Linked DNA regions of Homo sapiens: all the other regions are linked to region 1. The links are contacts of gene promoters, found by promoter capture Hi-C in blood cells and fetal thymus (Javierre and others, 2016). All regions are on one chromosome and are shown on one strand. The core of a region is centred on a gene start or on the middle of the fragment in contact, and the rest is flanking DNA. Distances in the headings are between cores, read along the strand shown. Region 1 holds the start of ACSBG2 (acyl-CoA synthetase bubblegum family member 2). Region 2 holds the start of PSPN (persephin). Region 3 has its middle 5.2 kb from the start of ACER1. Region 4 has its middle 9.2 kb from the start of MLLT1. Region 5 overlaps RFX2 (regulatory factor X2). Region 6 overlaps MLLT1 (MLLT1 super elongation complex subunit).

What was found. The method cuts DNA at HindIII sites, captures the fragments that hold promoters and counts their contacts. A CHiCAGO score of 5 or more calls a contact.
Region 2: the fragment with the promoter of PSPN here is called in contact with the fragment with the promoter of ACSBG2 in region 1 in 10 of 17 cell types (M0 macrophages, megakaryocytes, M2 macrophages and 7 more); the score reaches 9.4 in M0 macrophages.
Region 3: a contact is called between a fragment that was not itself captured here and the fragment with the promoter of ACSBG2 in region 1, in 2 of 17 cell types (M1 macrophages and M2 macrophages). The highest score is 7.3, in M1 macrophages.
Region 4: a fragment that was not itself captured here is called in contact with the fragment with the promoter of ACSBG2 in region 1 in 3 of 17 cell types (M2 macrophages, M1 macrophages and M0 macrophages); the score reaches 9.1 in M2 macrophages.
Region 5: a fragment that was not itself captured here is called in contact with the fragment with the promoter of ACSBG2 in region 1 in 1 of 17 cell types (neutrophils); the score reaches 5.2 in neutrophils.
Region 6: a fragment that was not itself captured here is called in contact with the fragment with the promoter of ACSBG2 in region 1 in 2 of 17 cell types (M2 macrophages and M1 macrophages); the score reaches 6.2 in M2 macrophages.

The regions. Positions count from the first base shown.
Region 1 is chr19:6,134,009-6,137,353 of GRCh38, reverse strand. ACSBG2 (acyl-CoA synthetase bubblegum family member 2) reads right to left here and starts at 1,687. Exons shown (of 15, transcript NM_030924.5): 1 at 1,445-1,687. All of the region lies in intron 3 of LOC105372255 (a long non-coding RNA gene), which reads left to right. RefSeq lists enhancers at 917-1,819, 1,820-2,723. The HindIII fragment of the contact is 9,635 bases long and covers 1,183-3,345 here.
Region 2 is chr19:6,374,260-6,377,604 of GRCh38, reverse strand. It overlaps PSPN (persephin), which reads left to right and starts at 1,672. Exons shown (of 2, transcript NM_004158.5): 1 at 1,672-1,903; 2 at 1,989-2,457. The coding sequence starts at 1,756. The coding sequence ends at 2,311. ALKBH7 (alkB homolog 7) reads right to left here. Exons shown (of 4, transcript NM_032306.4): 2 at 3,229-3,345; 3 at 3,016-3,140; 4 at 2,355-2,794. The coding sequence ends at 2,632. The HindIII fragment of the contact is 10,611 bases long and covers 1-3,345 here.
Region 3 is chr19:6,337,171-6,340,515 of GRCh38, reverse strand. It overlaps a transcript of ACER1 not described here. Among named protein-coding and RNA genes, the nearest start is that of ACER1, 5.2 kb to the right of the region's middle. The HindIII fragment of the contact is 2,998 bases long and covers 127-3,124 here.
Region 4 is chr19:6,287,530-6,290,874 of GRCh38, reverse strand. No RefSeq gene overlaps it. Among named protein-coding and RNA genes, the nearest start is that of MLLT1, 9.2 kb to the right of the region's middle. The HindIII fragment of the contact is 240 bases long and covers 1,752-1,991 here.
Region 5 is chr19:6,002,528-6,005,872 of GRCh38, reverse strand. It overlaps RFX2 (regulatory factor X2), which reads left to right. Exons shown (of 18, transcript NM_000635.4): 13 at 1,575-1,672; 14 at 3,003-3,152. All of the region lies in intron 1 of RANBP3-DT (RANBP3 divergent transcript), which reads right to left. Among named protein-coding and RNA genes, the nearest start is that of RANBP3-DT, 26 kb to the right of the region's middle. The HindIII fragment of the contact is 5,939 bases long and covers 1-3,345 here.
Region 6 is chr19:6,267,894-6,271,238 of GRCh38, reverse strand. It overlaps MLLT1 (MLLT1 super elongation complex subunit), which reads left to right. Exons shown (of 12, transcript NM_005934.4): 2 at 480-660. Among named protein-coding and RNA genes, the nearest start is that of MLLT1, 10 kb to the left of the region's middle. The HindIII fragment of the contact is 3,500 bases long and covers 1-3,345 here.

The DNA.
Region 1 (3,345 bases), core at 438-2,937:
CCTCAGATAGCTGGGACTACAGAAGCATGCCACTACGCCTGGCTAATTTATTTTTATTTTTATTTTTGTAGAGCTGGGGGCCTCGCTATATTGCCCAGGCCGGTCTTGAACTCCTGGCCTCAAGCAAGCCCCCCCCCCCCCCCCAACCCCGCCACCTCGGCCTCCCAAAGTGCTGGGATTTGCAGGTGTGAGCCACCACACCAGGCCCCTCTTTTCTTTATAAATTGCCCATCTTCAGGTATTACTTTATGGCAATGCAAAATGGGCAAATAAAATTAGTATCCGGAGTATGAAAAGAACTCTGGATTTAAAAGACAAATGTAAACAACCCAGTGTTTTATGATGAAAAATGTAAACAGGCAGTTCACAAAAAAGGAGCCTGGAAAGGGCTACAAATCCTGGACAAGATGCTCAGTAGCTTTGGTCATCAGGGAACTGCACGTTAAAAATCACACGATCGGCCGGGTGCGGAGGCTCACACCTGTGATCCCAGCACTTTGGGAGGCCGTGGCAGGTGGATCACTTGAGCTCAGGAGTTCTCTACAGAGGACTTGTAAGTTACTAGTAATATTCGATTTCACGAAGTGAAAAGGGCACACAGATATTTATCGTTATTCATTAAATCGTACAGATATGCTTTGTGTTATTTTATATGCATTATATGTTTCACAATTTTAAAAGGCCATGTAGGGTTCAGATGTGGTGACTCACACCTGTAATCCCAGCACTTTGGGAGGCTGAGTCGGGTGGATCGCTTGAGGCCAGGAGTTCGAGACCAGCCTGGCTGGCATGGTGAAACCCCATCTCTACTAAAAATACAAAAATTAGCTGGGCATGGTGGCGCGTGCCTATAATCCCAGCACTTTGAGAGGTCGAGGCGGGTGGATCACCTGAGGTCAGAAGTTCAAGACCAGCCTGGCTGGTATGGCGAAACCCCATCTCTACTAAAAATATAAAAATTAGGCCGAGTATGGCGGCTCACGCCTGTAATCCCAGCACTTTGGGAGGCCAAGGCGGGTGGATCACGAGGTCAGGAGATTGAGACTATCCTGGCTAATGTGGTGAAACCCCATCTCTACTAAAAAATACAAAAAATTAGCCGGGCATGGTGGCAGGCACCTGTAGTCCCAGCTACTCAGGAGGCTGAGGCAGGAGAATGGTGTGAACCTGGGAGGCGAAGCTTGCAGTGAGCCGAGATTGCGCCTGGGCAACAGAGCAAGACTCTGTCTCAAAAAAAAAAAAAAAATTAGCTGGACATGGTGGCAGGCGCCTGTAATCTCAGCTACTTGGGAGGTTGAGGTGGGAGTATCACTTGAGCCTGGGAGGCAGAGGTTGCAGTGAGCTGAGATCGTGCCACTGCACTATAGCCTGGGCAAAAGAGTGAGACCCTGTCTCAAAAAAAAAAGAAAAGAAAACGCATGCCCTTCTCCCATACCACTGGCACCTGTCACTCTTCAAGAGGTGTGGTTCTGGCCATCTGGCAAGGCACCTGGAGCTGGGACATCTGGTCACTCAGGTGTTTTCTTCTTCCTGCAAAGACAGTCAACAGGTAGCCCCTCCTGGAAACCTGAACATGAGCTGCCCCTTCCCAGCCCCCGTCACCCTCTCCGTCCAGCCAGGATGATGGTGGTGGTGGGAGGCAGGAGGATGGGTGGTTTCCCTCCACAACAGGCCTTCTACCCCATTCAACCTTCCAGAACGTTCCATCCCAGCCACCTCTTGTGACATCACTGGCTGCCCCTGCCTCCGCACCCCACCCCCACCCCTAGGGGAAGCTGCTTCCAGGACAGGGAGATTGCTCTTTTCATGCATCATTCATTTATTCATGCATGCATGCACTTCTGCGTTGCATTCGTGACGTTTTTATGAAGCCATGACCCTAATGGCAGGGATTGTGCTGGATGCTGGAGACATAAAGATGAACAAAGCCAGATGAGGCCTGTTCAAGAAAATAAGAGGAGGCCTAGAATCACACAAACAAATGCAAACTTACCATTGTGAAGAGAGCCCCAAGGCATGTTGAGGGCTTGATCAAAGGATCCCGCCCAGGCAGGGAGTCTGGGAGTGGTTTCTTTCTTTTCTTTCGTTTTTTGAGACGGGAGTCTTGCTCTGTCACCCAGGCTGGAGTGCAATGGTGCGATCTCAGTTCACTGCAACGTCTGCCTCCCAGGTTCAAGCGATTCTCCTGCCTCAGCCTCCCGAGTAGCTGGGATTACAGGCGCCCGCCACCACGCCCGGCTAATCTTTTGTATTTTTAGTACAGACGGGGTTTCGCCATGTTGGCCAGGCTGGTCTCAAACTCCTGACCTTGTGATCCGCCCGCCTTGGCCTCCCAAAGTGCTGAGATGACAGGCGTGAGCCACCGCGCCTGGCCTGGGAGTGGTTTCTTGAGCTGGGATCTGAAGTATGCCTGGATGTTATTCCTGCCCTCGTGACTTTCTCTTACGCTGCCTGTCTTCATGTGTTTACAGCGGCCTCCCCCTTCTCGTTCTCTGCTTTAGTCACTGCTAACAATGTCCACTACCAGGCACAGTGGCTTGTGCCTGGAATCCCAGCACTTTGGGAGGCCAAGTCCGTAGCATCACTTGAGGCCAGGAGTTCAAAACCAGCCTGGGCAATGTAGTAAGACCCCGTCTCTACAGAAAAATTTAAAAAATTAGCCGGGCGTGGTGGTGCGCAAGTGTAACCACAGCTAGTAGGGAGGCTGAGGTGGGGGGATTGTTTGAGCCCAGGAGTTCCAGGCTGCAGTGAGCTGTGATGGTACCATGGCACTCCAGCCAGGCCTACAGAGCAAGACCTTGTCTCAAAACAAAAAAGACAAAACAGTGCCAGGTGCAGCACATACTAGATGCTCAGTAAATAAAGATGTAGCAACAGAATCTTGTGCTGTGCCAGGAGAAAAGGACAAGGAGTGTTCCTTTGTCTCCAGGGCCTTTTGTGTGTGTGTGTGAGAGAGAGAGAGAGACGGAGTTTGGCTCTTGTTGCCCAGACTGGAGTGCAATAGCGTGATCTTGGCTCACTGCAACCTCTGCCTCCCGGGTTCAAGCGATTCTCCTGCCTCAGCCTCCCAAGTAGCTGAGGTTACAGGCATGCACCACCACTCCCGACTAATTTTCTGTATTTTTAGTAGAGATGGGTTTTCACCATGTTGGCCAGGCTGGTCTCCACCTCGTGGCCTCAGGTGATCCACCCGCCTCAACCTTCCATGGTGCTGGGATTACAGGTGTAGCCACCGCACCTGGCCACCAGGGCCTTCTTAATGTTTCACAAATATCTACTCTGCAGAGCACCTGGGCAGCTGTGCCAGGACAGCCAGTGTCCACCAATGTCCATTCAGCCCTTCTT
Region 2 (3,345 bases), core at 423-2,922, 240 kb before region 1:
CTGCCCACCTCGGCCTCCCAAAGTGCTGGGATTACAGGCGTGAGCCACTGTGCCTCGCCTAATTTTTGTATTTTCGTTAGAGACAGGGATTCACCATGTTGGCCTGGCTGGTCTCAAACTCCCGACCTCAAGTGATCCTCCCACCTCACCCTCCCAAAGTGCTGGGATTATAGGCATGAGCCACTGGGCCCCGCCAGGCTTTTTTGAGACAGTATCGCTCTGTCGCCCAGGTTTGAGTGCAATGGCACAATCTCAGCTCACTGCAACCTCCACCTCTCAGGTTCAAGCAATTCTCCTGCCTCAGCCTCCCGAGTAGCTGGGATTACAGGCGCCCACCACCATGCCCAGCTAATTTTTGTATTTTTAATAGAGATGGATTTCACCATGTTGGTCAAGCTGGTCTCAAACTCCTGACCTCAGGTAATCCACCCGCCTCAGCCTCCCGAGGCATGAGCCACCACGCCAAGCCCAGGCTTTTCTTTCCATCGGAAAATTATCATCTCAATAAGCACTTCAGTAAGAAAAACCACAACATAATCATCGAAGCAATCCCTCACGGATGGAGTTGAGGCCACTTCCAGACTTTCCTAATATGAAGAAGGCATCAGATGTCCCTGTGCTGGCTGTTTCACTTGCCTGTGTGGGAGGAACCCCGCAAACAGGGCTCCTGGGGCAGAGGGTGTAATTTACAATTCCCCAGTAGCAGCTGCTCATCCAAAGAGCTGCTAGCAATTTACACCCCCACCAACAGCACAGGGTGCACCTGGGTCACACGGGTTGTGTGTGAGGGTTTTCTGATTTTCCCCAATCTTGTGGGTGCTTAGAGTCAAGCACCCCTTCGGACAATCACAAGCTGTTTGCTTGTTTTTGCATTCGAAGCTACGGGCACTGCCTTACACTCTAAGTGCCCATCTCTTTCCTCACCAAGCCGAGTAGGAGGGGTTCTGAGGAGCTCCCCTGTACCGGTGAGGGGACTGGGCTCACACGGGGCTGGGTATGGAAGCCTCGAGAGCCCTTATCTGTCTGCATCGTGCTAGACGTTACCATGACCTGGACAGCCTCCATCGCCCCGGGGGCTCTGACATGCTCAGATCCCAGGATGGGGCTGCAGTTATAGGGGTCTCAGGTTGGCCTTCCCGAGACAGGCGTCCCTGTCCCCTTGTGTCCCCACCCTTGGCTGTCCCCAGGCCTCTCCCTTTTCCTGTTTTGATGCTGGCTCAGCCAGGCCCGGAGACAGGGGCATGATGTCCTAATCCTCCAGGCGGGAGCCACCATGGAGGGTTCCCGTGGACTCAGTCCCCTGCCAAGCCACCTTTCCCAGCACTCACATATGCTCCACCTGGCACATGATACACGTGGGGGCTCCTGAGCCCCAGCACCCTGACTTAGTGGGGAGGGACCCCACCGGGGTCCCATGAAGCCCCCTGACTTCCACTCCAGGCAGCAGGTCGGGGGAACACCAGTTGCCTGCCCTGGCCGCCAGCACAGCACTCGTAAATCAGGGGGTGTCTGGGGCGTCGGAAATGGCTGTGTGGAATGTCGGGGTGGGGTAGGCTGGGGGTGAGCCCTTAACTCTTAGAAGGGTGGGGTGTGGGGCAGAAGGAGCAGATGCCTGGATTCGAGGGTGCAGGAGATGGGCTGGTGCAGACGTGGGGCCTCCTGGCTGCAGGGGCCGGCAGTGAAGAGGTTAGCTCCCAGCCCAGGCAGGGCATAAATTTGGGGCACAGCTCCCACTCTCAGGACCTGCCCGTCACAATGGCCGTAGGGAAGTTCCTGCTGGGCTCCCTGCTGCTCCTGTCCCTGCAGCTGGGACAGGGCTGGGGCCCCGATGCCCGTGGGGTTCCCGTGGCCGATGGAGAGTTCTCGTCTGAACAGGTGGCAAAGGCTGGAGGGACCTGGCTGGGTAAGGACTTCCAGGGACCCTCTGTGACTTCCCAACTTTCCCCAGCCCTGACCCTGCTCACTGTCAGCGCCCTTCCCTCCCACAGGCACCCACCGCCCCCTTGCCCGCCTGCGCCGAGCCCTGTCTGGTCCATGCCAGCTGTGGAGCCTGACCCTGTCCGTGGCAGAGCTAGGCCTGGGCTACGCCTCAGAGGAGAAGGTCATCTTCCGCTACTGCGCCGGCAGCTGCCCCCGTGGTGCCCGCACCCAGCATGGCCTGGCGCTGGCCCGGCTGCAGGGCCAGGGCCGAGCCCACGGCGGGCCCTGCTGCCGGCCCACTCGCTACACCGACGTGGCCTTCCTCGATGACCGCCACCGCTGGCAGCGGCTGCCCCAGCTCTCGGCGGCTGCCTGCGGCTGTGGTGGCTGAGGGTGCCCGGCCTGGCACCCAGAAGCTGCAGTGCTGGGGGAGCTCGGCTGACTTATTTATTGGAGACCTGGATGCAGAGACAACGAGGAGGGGAGTGGGCTGGGGCGACCAGCAGTGAGTGCAATAAAGGACACCACTCTCCCGGCCTTGTGACTTTGACCATGTGTCCAGCCAGCCACACCTGGAGCTCCCTATGGGCCAGTGCCATCCTGGGTTCCCCTGCAAATCCCGGCCCCAGCAAGCAGCCACTGCAATGTCCCAGTTAGGCTGTCCATTCCCCAACTTTATTCACAAATCTGGTGTCTGTAGAAAGCTGGGGGTCAGCAGGCTGGGGGCGGCTGTCCAGACTCCCCTGGCCCCATGCCCTCAGGGAGGGAGCGGCAGATCACGGAGATGCGCCGGCCCCGGGGAATCCGGCGTTCCCCAAAGAAGGACTCTTCATCCCGAAGGATCTCATGGGAGAAGTCATAACGGGCTGAGCCCCTGCAGGAAGAAACAGGCTGTGACTGGGTGCAAGGAGGGCAGCCCCTGCTCCAGGCAGACCTGGATTCCAGCCTCCTGGATTCCAGCCCCCTGCTGCCTCCCACACAGACCCTGGGGTAAAGGCGTCTTCGGGGAGGGCTGGATTGAGGGAAAGTACCCAGGGCACAGGGTGGGCGGATGGCACATTCTTGGAGGGGTGGGTGCTGCCTGGATGGAGGTACCTAAGGATGTAGAGGGAGCCCGGCTCCAGCAAGAGTTCCAGCCACTCCCCCGGCTCCTGGGTGTGCACCAGCCGCATAACGCTGGGAGACAGGAGAGACAGGCCGGCGATGGTGGCCCCGCAGAACTGCAAAAGAGGCGTGGGGATGGGTCAGGATCTAACCGGGCCTGCCTACCCCCTGGCTGGGAGTGCCAAGGCACCGTCCTCTGCCCACCTTGATGCTGTCCACGTGGGGCTTGATGTAGCCGCGGGCTTCCAGGTCCAGCACGTGCACGGAGGAGAGCAGGGTCTGGCCGGGGCCAAAGGCGGCCGCCTGCACGCGCTGCAGGAT
Region 3 (3,345 bases), core at 376-2,875, 200 kb before region 1:
AGCTGGGGTGGCAGTGGTGGTGTCTGTTTGCCCTCCTGGTCCACCTGGGAAGCGGATTTGGGGGCTAGGGCTGTAGCTAAATGGTGTATGTTTGTGGAGGGGTGCTATACAGAGTCAGGTCAAGCTTTAGTTCTGTTTTTCTTCCTTCCTTCCTTCCTTCCTTCCTTCCTTCCTTCCTTCCTTCCTTCCTTCCTTCCTTCCTTCCTTCCTTCCTTCCTTCCTTCTTTCTTTTTTTGGAGACAGAGTCTTGCTCTATGCCCAGGCTGGAGTGTAGTGGCGCGATCTTGGCTGACTACAACCTCCACCTCCCAGGCTCAAGTGATTCTCGTACCTCAGCCTCCCGAGTAGCTGGGATTACAGGCACGCACCACCACGCCTGGCTAATTTTATTTTTTTTATTTTTAGTAGAGACGGTGTCTCACCATGTTGGCCAGGCTGGTCTTGAACCCTGACCTCAAGTGATCCACCTGCCTCAGTCTCCCAAAATGCTGGGATTACATGTGTGAGCCACCACGCCCAGCCCCAAACCCCTCTTTTAAAAACCTAAATCAGGCCAGGCGTGGTGGCTCACGCCTGTAATCCCAGCACTTTAGGAGGCTGAGGCGGGCGGATCATGAGGTCAGGAGATCAAGACCATCCTGGCTAACACGGTGAAACCCCGTCTCTACTAAAAATACAAAAAAAACTTAGCCGGGTGTGGTGGCGGGCGCCTGTAGTCCCATCGGGAGGCTGAGGCAGGAGAATGGCGTGAACCCGGGAGGCGGAGCTTGCAGTGAGCCGAGATCGCACCACTGCACTCCAGCCTGGGCAACAGAGAGAGACTCCATCTCAAAAAACAAAAAACAAAAACAAAAACCCTAAATCATTACTTTGTAAAATTGTGGTAAAAGATACATAACACGAAACTGATCATTTTAATCATCAAATGCATAGTTCAGCGGCATTAAGCACATTCGCATGTCTATGCAGCCATCACCACCATCCCCTCCAGAACTTTCTCATCTTTCCAAACTGAAACTCTGTCCCCAAGAAACACTCACTCCCTATCCCCCTCCCCAGCCCCTCATACCCCCCGTTCTACTTCCTGTCTCTGTGACTCTGAGGACTTTGGGGACCTCCTAGGAGTGGGATCACACAGGATTTGTCCTTTTATGTCTGGCTTATTTCACCCAGCTTGATGTCCTCAAAGTCCATCCACGTTGTTGCCTGTATCAGAATTTCCTTCCTTTTTCAGGGCTGAATAATATTCCACGGTATGGATGAACCACACACATTGTGTTTATCCATTCATGTATTAATTAAAAATCTAAATCAATCCCTTTATAAAAAGAGATTTTTAGGCTGGGTGCGGTGGCTCATGCCTGTAATCTCAGCACTTTGGGAGGCTGAGGCAGGCGGATCACCTGAGGTCAGGAGTTCCAAACCAGCCTGGCTAACATGCTGAAACCCCATCTCTACTAAAAATGTAAAAATTAGCCCGACGTGGTGGTGGGCGCCTGTAATCCCAGCTATCGGGAGGCTGAAGCAGGAGAATCATTTGAACCCAGGAGGCGGAGGTTGCAGTGAGCCGAGATTGCACCATTGCACTCTAGCCTGGATGACAGGAAGAGACTCGGTCTTAAAAAAAAAAAAAGATTTTAAGGCCAGGTGCGGTGGCTCACACATGTAATTCTAGCACTTTGGGAGGCTGAGGTGGAAGGATCGCTTGAGCTCGGGAATTAGAGAGCAGTCTGGGAGACATAGTGAGAACCTGTCTCTACAAAAAATAGAAAAAATTTGCCTGGCCTGTAGTCCCAGCTACTTGGGAGGCTAAGGTGTGAGGATCACTTGAGCCCAGGAGGTTGAGGCTGCAGTGGCCTGTGATTGCACCACTGCACTCAAGCCTGGCAGCAGAGTGAGACCCTCTATCAAACACATTAAAAAAAATGGAATAATTATAAACTTGCAGGAACCTGCAATAATAATATAGAAGAATCCCAGGTAATCTTCATCCAGTTTCTCCCAGTGGTACCTCTTTTATAACTATACATTTTCACAACCAGAAAGGTGATATAAATATGACCTATAGACCATATTCAGATTTCAACAGCTTTTCCCATGCATTCATGTGTTAGACAATTTTCTTTTCATTTTCTCAGAAAAATGGGAGCAAATCTATGCAATAATATCACATGTATAGATCTGTGCAAACACAACCACAATTGTAACACTTACATTTATTTTGGCCAGGGCACAGTAGCTCATACCTGTACTCCCAGCAACTTGGGAGGCGAAGGTGAGAAGATTGCTTGAGCCCAGGAAATTGACATTGCTGTGAGCTAGGATTTTACCACTGCCCTCCAGCCTAGGAAACGGAGCAAGACTCCATCTCTTAAAAAATACATATTTATTTTATTATTTTATTTTTATTTTATTTAATTAACTATTTTTTTTTGAGACAGGGTTTCCCTCTTTTTGCCCAGGTTAGAGTGCAGCGGTGGAATTAGAGGTGTAAGCCACTGCACTGGGCCAAAATATTATTTTAAAAAGAAAATTCTGGGGCTGGGCGCGGTGGCTCACGCCTGTAGTCCCAGCACTTTGGGAGGCCGAGGTGGGTGGATCACGAGGTCGGGAGATCGAGACCATCCTGGCTAACATGGTGAAACCCTGTCCCTACTAAAAATACAAAAAAATTAGCCAGGCGTTGGTGGTGGGTGCCTGCAGTCCCAGCTACTCGGGAGGCTGAGGCAGGAGAATGGCATGAACCCAGGAGGCGGAGCTTGCAGTGAGCCAAGATCGAGCCACTGCACTCCAGCCTGGGCGACAGAGCAAGACTCCATCTCAAAAAAAAAAAAAAAAAAAAAAAAAAAAAAAAGAAAGAAAGAAAGAAAAGAAAAGAAAAAGAAAAAGAAAACTTTGGCCAGGCAGGGTGGTCCACGCCTGTAATCCCAGCTACTCAGAAGGCTCAGGCAAGAGAATCGTTTGAACCTGGGAGGTGGAGGTTGCAGTGAGCCGAGATCATGCCATTGCACTCCAGCCTGGGGGACAGAGCAAACGCCATCTCAAAAAAAAAAAGAAAAAAAAAGGAAACTTTGTAACCCTACCGTGAATGGAAAGTAGATTTGGCTTACCATGAATACAAGCTTATCAAAAAATAAATACAATGTAAACAAATCATGTTACTAAATTCTAACAGAATATTGTTGCCTAATGAAGGGCTTTTCTTTTCTTTTTTGTCAAAGTCATTAAGTGTTAAGAGACATAGAACATATTAGCACTGACTGAGCCTCTCTTCTCCAAATATTGGAAATTGAAAAAGTTGATTACTTTCAGACACCACAGTGATTTTTTTTTTTTTTTTGAGAG
Region 4 (3,345 bases), core at 622-3,121, 150 kb before region 1:
ATCTCAGGGACTATGGAGTCCGTGAAGCTTCAGGGCAGGTATTAGAGCTTTTGCCTTTTTTTCCGTATCTCCTCTCTCTTTTCTGGACTTCCTCCAAGTTCCCACAGCAAAGTCTAAGGTGACCACTCCCAGGAGGCCCTCCAAAGTACCATCTGGCCCTGCAGCCTGTTTCTGAAGCTCCCTCCTGACATCAGGGCCTGACTGTGTCATAAACTCATCCTCTAGGATCAGATGTCCCTCTCCTCAATCAGGACTTAGGTGTGTTTTACCAAGGCCTCTCTTAGCCTTTCCAGGAAGGCAGTGGGACTCACGCTTAATCCCTGTCTACCATGGATAGCTTAGTGTAATTGAGAGGCTTTGTCCTAGTCCTTCGTATGCCCTCTGGTATGCACACCTGAAAGTGTTTCCTCTTCCATTCTTTTTTTTTTTTTTGAGATGGTGTCTTGCTCTGTCGCCGAGGCTGGAGTGCAGTGGCATGATCTCGGCTCACTGCAACCTCCACCTCCCAAGTTCAAGTTATTCTCCTGCCTCAGCCTCCTGAGTAGCTGGGATTACAGGCATGTGCCACCACATCTGGCTAATTCATTTTTGTATTTTTAGTAGAGATGGGGTTTCACCATGTTGGTCAGGCTGGTCTAGAACTCCCGACCTCGTGATCTGCCCACCTCGGCCTTCCAAAGTGCTGGGATTACAGGTGTGAGCCACCGTGCCTGGCCTCCTTTTCCATTTTCTTTTTTTTTTTTTTTTTTGAGACAGAGTCTTGCTCTGTCATCAGGCTGGAGTGCAGTGGCATGATCTCAGCTCACTGCAATCTCTGCCTCCCAGGCTCAAGTGATTCCCTGCCTCAGCCTCCCAAGTAGCTGGGACTACAGGTGTGCACCACCATGCCTGGCTATTTTTTTTGTATTTTAGTAGAGATGGGGTTTCACCATGTTGGGCAAGATGGTCTTGATCTCCTGACTTCATGATCCGCCCATCTCAGCCTCCCAAAGTTCTGGGATTACAGGTGTGAGCCACCACGCCTGGCCCCATTCTTTTGTCTCATCATTGAGGTCCCATTTAGGGTTCTTCAGTGGTACTGCTATTCTTCCAATCAGATAAGTCTCATCCCCTTCCCTGGCCCTATATAAGATATAAAGCTCATCCCCAAAATTCTGTGCCACTTTCAGGGTGGCCTGCTTTTCAGTGGTGGTCAGGGTTTGATTCAAAAGTAACATGAAGCCGGGTGCAGCTCATGGCTGTAATTCCAGCACTTTGGGATACCAAGGTGGGCAGATCACTTGAGGTCAAGAGTTTGAGACCAGCCTGGCCAATATGGTAAAACCCCATGTCTACTAAAAATATAAAAATTAGCCAGTGTGGTGGTGCATGCCTGTAGTCCCAGCTACTTGGGAGGCTGCGGCAGGAGAATCACTTGAACCTGGGAGGTGGAGGTTGCAGTGAGCCAAGAGAGTGCCACTGCACTCCAGCCTGGATGACAGAGTGAGACCCCATCTCAAACAAAAACAAAAACAAGAGTAACATGACATCTTTCCAGGAGAGCTCAAATACTTGGGTTAAGTTCTGGAAACTCTCTATATACCTGTGAGGGCCATCTGAAAACTTGCCAAGATCTCCCCTTAAATTTGCCTTAAGTTCTATAGAGAAAAGGAAAACTGAACTTCAATGGGACCATATTCACCAGGCATCTGTTTTTGGGCAGTTGAGACTGGGACCTGCCTTAAACAAGGATTACTATGCCGGGGCAAGCTTGAGAGAGAACCTGGATAGGGAGGAGTTGAGGGGATTGATTCCCCTGCTGGAGGTACCTCTGGGGTATGCTTCCCTATTTCTCTGGGATTACCCCTTGCAGCTTCTCCTGAGAAGGCCATTAGGACAGCTGAATCAATCCTACAATGTTGGCAAAGGTCCAGATTACCCTGCAAGGCAAAGAAGGCCTGCATGTATGGGACCTTGGACCATTTATTTGCCCTTGTGTTTACAGAAAAGCTTCCTTCCTGAGGCCATGCTTCTGTTCTGTGCCTCAAGGTGCCTTGCACCAAGATGGCAACCAAGGAAATGACAATAACATTTTTCCCACAAAATTATGTACAGATACCAAGGCACACTTTGCTCATCTGTGCTACTCTTAACCTTCCATTTTATACTTTTGATGACTAAGCCAAATGCTCATTCTATCCAGTAATTTCTCTGTTTTGCAGCAACATTCTTAACATTTAACATTGTAGGCTGGATGCGGTGGCTCATACCTGTAATCCCAGCCCTTTGGGAGGGCGAGGCAGGTGGATGACCTGAGGTCAGGTGTTCAAGACAAGCCTGCCCAACATGGTGAAACCCCATCTCTATTAAAATACAAAAATTAGCCAGGCATGGTGGTGCATGCCTGAAATCCCAACTACTTTGGAGGCAGATGTTGCAGTGAGATAAGATCACACCACTGCACTCCAGCCTGGGCGACAGAGCAAGGCTCTGTCTCAAACACACACACACACACACACACACACACACGCGTGCGCACAGAAATTTAATGTTGTATATAAAGAAGAGATAGGAGCTGGGTGCAGTGGCTCATGCCTGTAATCTCAACACTTTGGGAGGTCAAGGTGGGTGGATCACCTAAGGTCAGGAGTCAAGATCATGCCATGCCACTGCACTCCAGCCTGGGCGACAGAGCAAGACTCCATCTCAAAAAAAAAAAAAAAAAAGAAGAGATAAGAACCTTGACAACCATGAAAGAAAGAAAGATAGGAGACTGGAGGTCCTAGTGCCAACAACACCCTAATGGGCGCTTAGGGACTTGAGTTTCAGGAGTTAGTCCAGGGGCCTTTGGATAACACTGAGGCATAGCCTCAGCCAGATACCCTCAGTTGCCCCAGGACCTCCTTCTGGTCCCATGTAACAGGTAGACCTCATGGAAGGAAACGGGATTGAAACAAACCCAACATTCTCAACACTTGAGGATGATGAGGGATTGACAGTGTCCTCCCCAGCAAGGCTATCATCCATGTTTTAAGTCCAGCATCTCTGCTAGTTAATTTTAACTGGCTAATAGAGGCCTGGTGTTTTTCTTTCATTTTAGCTATTGTTGAGTTTAGGGACTCCTAAAAAGGGACAGAAAGAGCAGATCTGCTTTTACTCACCCTTTCACTCACCCTTCTGCAGATCCTGGACGAGCCCTCAAAAATGTTGCAGGATCCTTGGGGTGTTGATTTCTGGTTGGAAACCTCTGTGGCTGGTGGCACCTTTGCCTGAGTTTTGCTCGGGCCCACTGGGCTCATTCCACCCACACGGCCTGGCAGGCTGTGCTCAGCTCACACTACTAGCCTGGATCTCACACTTGCCAAG
Region 5 (3,345 bases), core at 469-2,968, 130 kb after region 1:
CACCTTCCTCCAGCCTCCCTTAAGCCCCACTGTGACACATCCTGAGTGCCACCCCTGTAGGAGGGGCAGGGACATAAACTCAGAAGAAGAAGCTGGGACATGGCCCTGGACTCCTGCAGCCTGTTAGGGTAGAGGCTGACCTTTAACCCCCAGCCAGACCCCACTTCCCAGCACCGTGGGATTCCAGGAGACATTTACACCCCAGCGCCCCACCCTGTGATTTCCCACAGGACTTGGTGGGGTGGGGAGAGAGTGACAGGCACAGTGAGGAAGGAAGCTAGGCCCACGGCAGAGATCACTCGTGCCCTTGGAGACCTCCCAGGGCCTCCAGCTCCTGAGGCAATGACAGCACCCACCACGAGGGAGCCCTCGGGCCAGGCCCGTGCCAAGCTCCCCAAAACCCTGGGGGTCGTCAAGGAAGCTGGGCACAGAGGCCTCTCTTCATAAATCACAGCATCAGGACCACAGGCCATGCCCCGCAGTCCATCCACAAACATCCGGGCCCATGGACCGTGCCCCTCAGGCCATCCACAAATATGCATGCCCGTTAGTACCAGGCAGCTCTCCGTCCTGTTGAGTAAACTCTATGCTCCCTTTGCTGGAAGATGGGAAACAGCAAAAGTATTGCATTTCTCATTTGGCCTGGCCTTGCCTGTCTGCCTGAAAACTGTTCAGGGCAATGCCTCGTCTGAGTTTCTATGTTATGGTGGGAGTTTGGGGTATCTTTCCTTTTGCATTTTAAAATATTTTTCTGGTTTTTTTTAAGACAGAGTTTTGCTCTTGTCACTCAGGCTGGATTGCAGGAGGCTCACTGCAGTCTTTGCCTCCTGGGTTCAAGTGATTCTCCTGCCTCAGCCTCCCAAATAGCTGGGACTACAGGCACCCACCGCCACGTCCAGATCATTTTTGTATTTTTAGTAGAGATAGGGTTTCACCATGTTGGCCAGGCTGGTCTCGAACTCCGGACCTCAGGTGATCCGCCCACCTCGGCCTCCCAAAGTGCTGGGACTACAGGCGTCAGCCACCACACCTGGCCTTTTTCTGTTTTTGTTTTTTGGTTTTTTTTTTTTTTAACAGTCTGATCATTTGCTTCTTATTCTAACCCACTTTAAAATAAATTAGGAAGTTGGTAGAATGTATTTACGTGTGTGTGTGTGTTTGTGTCAAGGCCTCTTTCCCTTGGCACTGTTGATATCTGGGGCTGGATCGTTGTCTGGGGTGGGGCCCTCCTGGGCACTGTGGGGTGCTGAGGAGCATCCCTAGCCTCCACCCACTCCATGCCTGAGGCACCCTGCAGTCATGACCACCATTAACGTCCCCAGACATTGCCCAGTGTCCCCTGGGGCAGAATCGCCCCTGTGAGACCCGCATAGGCAGTGGGTGGTGACCAGCAGCGCTGGGCCATGCCTGGTTCTTCCCGTTTCTAAGTGTCCTCGGTTCCCCGTCGCCTGTGTGGCTCGTTCTTCATGGTGGTCATTTTCATCGCACTTGGGCCAGCTCTTACACTGAATGCTGATTTCCAGGGTCCAGTCACTGCCTTTCTCCCTGGTAATATCATGGTCTGTATCCCCCAGGTACCTTGACACAGGCCATCCGTAACTTTGCCAAGAGCTTGGAAGGCTGGTTGACAAATGCCATGAGTGACTTCCCACAACAGGTCATCCAGACCAAGGTGCGTCCGGGGTGGGGCCTGGGCTCCCCAACGATGGCTGGGAGGGGCTCCAGTCCAGGACAGCATGAGGACCACTGTGTCCCAGAGAGCGCTGGCTTCTTCCCTGCGTCATGAGAGTAACCGATCCCTTCAGGAAGCCCTGAGCACACTGCCGGTGACGCGTCAGTGCTGGCAGGAAGGGGAACAACAGAAGATGTCATTTGATGTCACATCTTTGGGTCAATTCAGAACAGATTGCGTGTTTCTGTGCTCATCTTATTCGGGAAATTTAATCTCCTTGCTGTGACCCTTATTGCTGCAATCTTGGCCACAAATCAGTCGAATTTGAAATGTAGAACCTTGGCCGACTTGTGGAAAAGAGAGTGATTACCCACCGTTCTCACAAGCATTTCTTTTTTTTTTTTTTTTTTTTTTTTTTTTTTGAGACAGAGTCTCACTCTGTCGCCCAGGCTGGAGTGCAATGGTGTTATCTCAGCTCACTGCAACGTCTGCCTCCCGGGTTCAAGCGATTCTCCTGCCTCAGCCTCCCGAATAGCTGGGATTACAGGTGCCCGCCACCACACCTGGCTAATTTTTTTGTATTTTTAGTAGAGACAGGGTTTCGCCATGTTGGCCAGGCTGGTCTCGAACTCCTGACCTCAGGCGATCCACCTGCCTTGGCCTCCCAAAGTACCGGGATTACAGGTGTGAGCCACCTCACCCAGCCATCATGAGCATTTCCTGAAGGGCTCTTGGGTGAGAGGAGGCAGCTGCAGGGCACCCGCCTGCTCTTCGGAATTGATCTGTTAGGCAGTGATGCAAGCATTGATCAGGTCATTGTTAAAAAGTCACATTCAGGGCCGGTGCAGTGGCTCACACCTGTAATCCCAGCACTTTGGGAGACAGAGACTGGAGGATCATTTGATGCCACGAGTTTGAGACCAGCCTGGGCAACAACAAGCAAGACCCCATCTCTTAAAAAAAATAAGATTCCCAGGCCACACCCACTAAAAGTCTGATCCTGTAGCACTCAGGAGTCTGTGGTCTCAACAGCCCCTCCAGAGAACCACAGGGACTCTAGAAGTGGGCATGGCGACAGTTGTGAATTCTAACTCAGCAGCACGCAGGCCTCAGTTAGCGACGTGTGTGATGTGCCGGCGAGGTCTCCTCTTCACTGATTCTCACACACTGGGTCCTTAAGAATAGCAGGAGGTTCCCTCTTCCCTGCCCAGGTTGCTGTTTCCTGCTCCCTCCTCCCTGTGTTGTCCCTGAGCCCACACACCCCTGCAAGGAGCGCAGCGGAACAGGCTCTCCCTGCGAACCCCTGCTCACCACGAGCCCTGGCTTACAGGTGGGCGTCGTCAGTGCCTTCGCCCAGACGCTGCGGCGCTACACGTCCCTCAACCACCTGGCGCAGGCGGCCCGGGCGGTGCTGCAGAACACGTCCCAGATCAACCAGATGCTCAGCGACCTCAACCGCGTGGACTTTGCCAACGTGCAGGTGACTTCCTCCACACCGTCCCCAGGGCCCGGGCTTCCCGCCCTCCAGCAAAACCAGCAAACCCACCAAGTGGAGCCCGTGGCACAACCTGGCCCCTGCCCCGAGCCTGGCCACGGTTCTGTTGCATGACACGGGTCCCAGGCCAAAGCCCACCCACAGCCCCCAGCTCTCTCCACTCCATCATCTCTCAGGG
Region 6 (3,345 bases), core at 454-2,953, 130 kb before region 1:
TGAAAGTGCTCGGAAGAGCATCCTCTATGATAGAGTGATGGGAGCGGTGGTGGATGCTTTTGGATCGGTGGTCAGGGGAGGCTTCCCTGCAGAGGGACAGTCAAGCTGAGAGCCCAGTGACAAGAGGCGCCAGTGTGGGAAGTCTCAGGAGCAGAGGATCCTAGGCCAGTGTGGTGGCCCCGAGGCAGGAGTGAGCTGGGCTGAGCTGGGGACCGGTGAGGAGGCTGTGCGGGTGGAATTGAGGATGAGGCGGTGGATGAGAGGAGACACGGGGTCTGTGTGGGAGTACGGAGGGGAGAAGGCACGGGACGTCTGCGGCAAGGTGCTGGCGCGATAGGAAGCCGTCTGTGTGCTGCTCACTGGGTTGAGAGCGTATTGCACTGCTGGGGGTCTTTATCGAAAGTTCTCTGTGGGTAAGGGGACAGTCCCCTGCTTGGAGGCGTGTGCTGACTTCATCTCCCCACCTCTCTCTCCTCCAGTGCACCGTCCAGGTGAGGTTAGAGCTGGGGCATCGCGCCCAACTGCGCAAGAAGCCCACCACGGAGGGGTTCACTCACGACTGGATGGTGTTTGTCCGCGGCCCCGAGCAATGTGACATCCAGCACTTCGTGGAGAAGGTGGTCTTCTGGCTGCACGACAGCTTCCCCAAGCCCAGACGCGGTGAGTGGCCTCAAGCCCTGAGTGCCCACAGCACGGACCCATCTGTCTTCACTCCTCCCAAGGCCAGGCTCCACCCCTCCCTCAGGAGCAGCAGGACCCCTCCAACCATGAGGTTCCAGCTTGCGTCCCTCGGCGTGGGGGCACTGGAGCCGTGTCACCTCCAGCTGTTGAGTTAGTCGTAGGAAGAACCGAAGGAGGTGGTGGCGGTCTGTTGTGTCGTGATTTAGACCCGGGCTCTGGGAAGCAGCCAGGGAGCACAGCCAGGTTGGCATGGGTGGGACAGGTGAAGTCAGCCGGCTGGTGAGTGATCAGGAAGTTGCCGACCGGGCCTATGTTTGTTTGTGTGCCATGTGAAGAATTCCCAATATTTGGGGCAGAAAGAATGCCGGAGCTCATGTCACCACTGTCTTTTCCGTGTCTTCCCTCTCCCTTCAAGCCTCAGGCCGTCATTGATTCAGCACGAGTGCCTCAGTCGTGTATTCTGTCAGCGTCTCCACCTGTGGCGTGGGGGCCCTGGCCTTCCTGGAGGGTGCAGTGTGACGGGGCACAGGCAGGAAGTCACCCAGTTTATGATCAGGGATGCCCTCCTGGGGAAGTGAGCCCTAGGGAAAGGCTGTGGTGGGGAATCGGAGAGTGAGGTGGTGGTCTGGTGAGCGCCATCAGGGCTGGGGCCGCGTCTACTTTTCTTACCGCTGAGTCGCCAGTGTGAAGCCCGGAGCCCGGCACATCACAGGGGTTCGATAAATGCTTCTTGGGTGATGTCTTGATAAAGGAATGAGGGACTTTCTGTAGGAAGCACTTCAGGGTGGGAAGAGCCCTGGCTGGGCTGGTGACCCCTCTACCCTGCAATACGGGGGTCCCGGGAGCTCCAGGGGCCACGGGAGGTGAGCCGTGCACAAGCGTGGGTGTGCTTAGGTTGAAGCAAGAGCTTCCCGGGACCCGGGACCCAGGACCCTGGCCCTGAGCCTGTAAGTGGTTTGCAGCCTAGTGGGGAAGTGATGGGCGTTGACAGCAGTAGAGGCTTGTCATTCTGAAGGGATGCCCACCTGCGATTCCCTCAGCCTGCGGCTTCTCTTTCCCTCTGCATTTCTCCTTTCCTGAGTCTTCACCTTTTCCCCTTTTCCTTCCTCCCTCTCTAAGCCTCTTAGAGGATGGCCGCGGAGGCTCCTGACAGCGGCAGATGTTTATAAACCGCTTCCTAATCGTGGGGACACATGCCATCTATCGAGCACTTCCTGGCCAGCGCTTCGTGCGCAGGATCGCGTTTTCTTCTCGCCACAGCCCTCTTCTGCAGACGGGGAGACGGGTCCAGGGGGCAGGCCGCTACCTGTGCTTAGAGCAGGGTGGGCAGGCTGGCCTGTGGGCTGGGTCTGGCCACTGCCAGTGCAGCCTGTTTTTATTGGTGCACGGCCATGCCCGCCCGCATAGGTGTTGCCTGTGGCTGCTTTTGTGCCACGTTGGCAGAGCAGGAGCCTGGCTGCCCCTCCTGCACCAGGCCCTCTTTCCTTTCTCTGGTGGCATCCACTCCACTTCTTCACCAACCCCCTCACCCCTCCCCTTTTCTCTGTCCCTGGAGCACAGGGATGGGCCCCGGACGCTGATTTCCATCCACTTTGAGGCTGTTGATTTCACCTTTGTTCCCCACCACGTTGACATGGCACCTTCTCCAAGTACCTGGAAGGTGGGGTAGTGAGTGGGGCTCACTCTTAAGGGTTAGTTTTTAGTTTTTTGTTTTGTTTTGTTTTTTGTTTGTCGTGTTGCCCAGGCTTGTCTTGAGCTCCTGGCAGGCATGTGCCACCATGCCAGGCTTCAGTGTCAGTTTGCAGGCGGCCTTTAAATTAGTAGCTGAGCCCTGTTTGTTGCTGTCTGTCTGTGGGGCCTGGAGGCAGATAGCGGCCCCATCAAATGTATCAGAAAGTAAATTTCCAGCTCACACTCTGTGGCATTGAATAAAACTTTAGAGAGGGAGTGAACCTCTTAGAGCACTCCAGCCTCTGGATTGATACTTGAGGTACTTAAAAAGTATCTTTTACTTCCGCCCCAGCTTACATTATCACAAATCAAATAGGGTAGAAACATGTAAGGTACAAAGTTGCTGTTCCTGGCCTCCTTAGTCCTCCCTCCCCGGGGCTGTCTTCCTAGCCCTCTCTGGACTCCTCTTAATACCAGCTCATTTGCTTCTTATTTCTTGATTTTTTAAATGTAGACAATACTTACTGATTTACCAGCTTGAAGGGTTAGAATTTATCCCAAAGTACCCCTTTTATCCACTGTCTTCTCTAAGTTTTTAATAGTCCAGTGACTCGCTTTTGCGTTGGTTGTCTTTGTGACTTTGAATGATGATGTGAGCCTGTTTACCTTTGGGATCCTTCACAGAAGAGTCCCACGTCACCCTTTTTAGGGAGTCCTCTGGCTGCCTGGGCTCAATCGCGGTTTCGTTGCCCAATACACCCACACAGCCATATGCTTCTTAGCCTTTTTGTTTTCTGCTTTGGTTTTCTCCTTAGCACCATCTTAACATCTCGTACATATGACTTCTTCATCTTGTCCATCCCTCTCCCCACCCCAAGTCAGAGGTTTCTGTCAGTTTTGTTTGCTGCTACATGTTCGGTGCCTGCAGGGATACAGTAGGTGCTTACTAAGTGTTTGATGACTGGATGGACCCTTGCACCTGGTCAGCTTTTG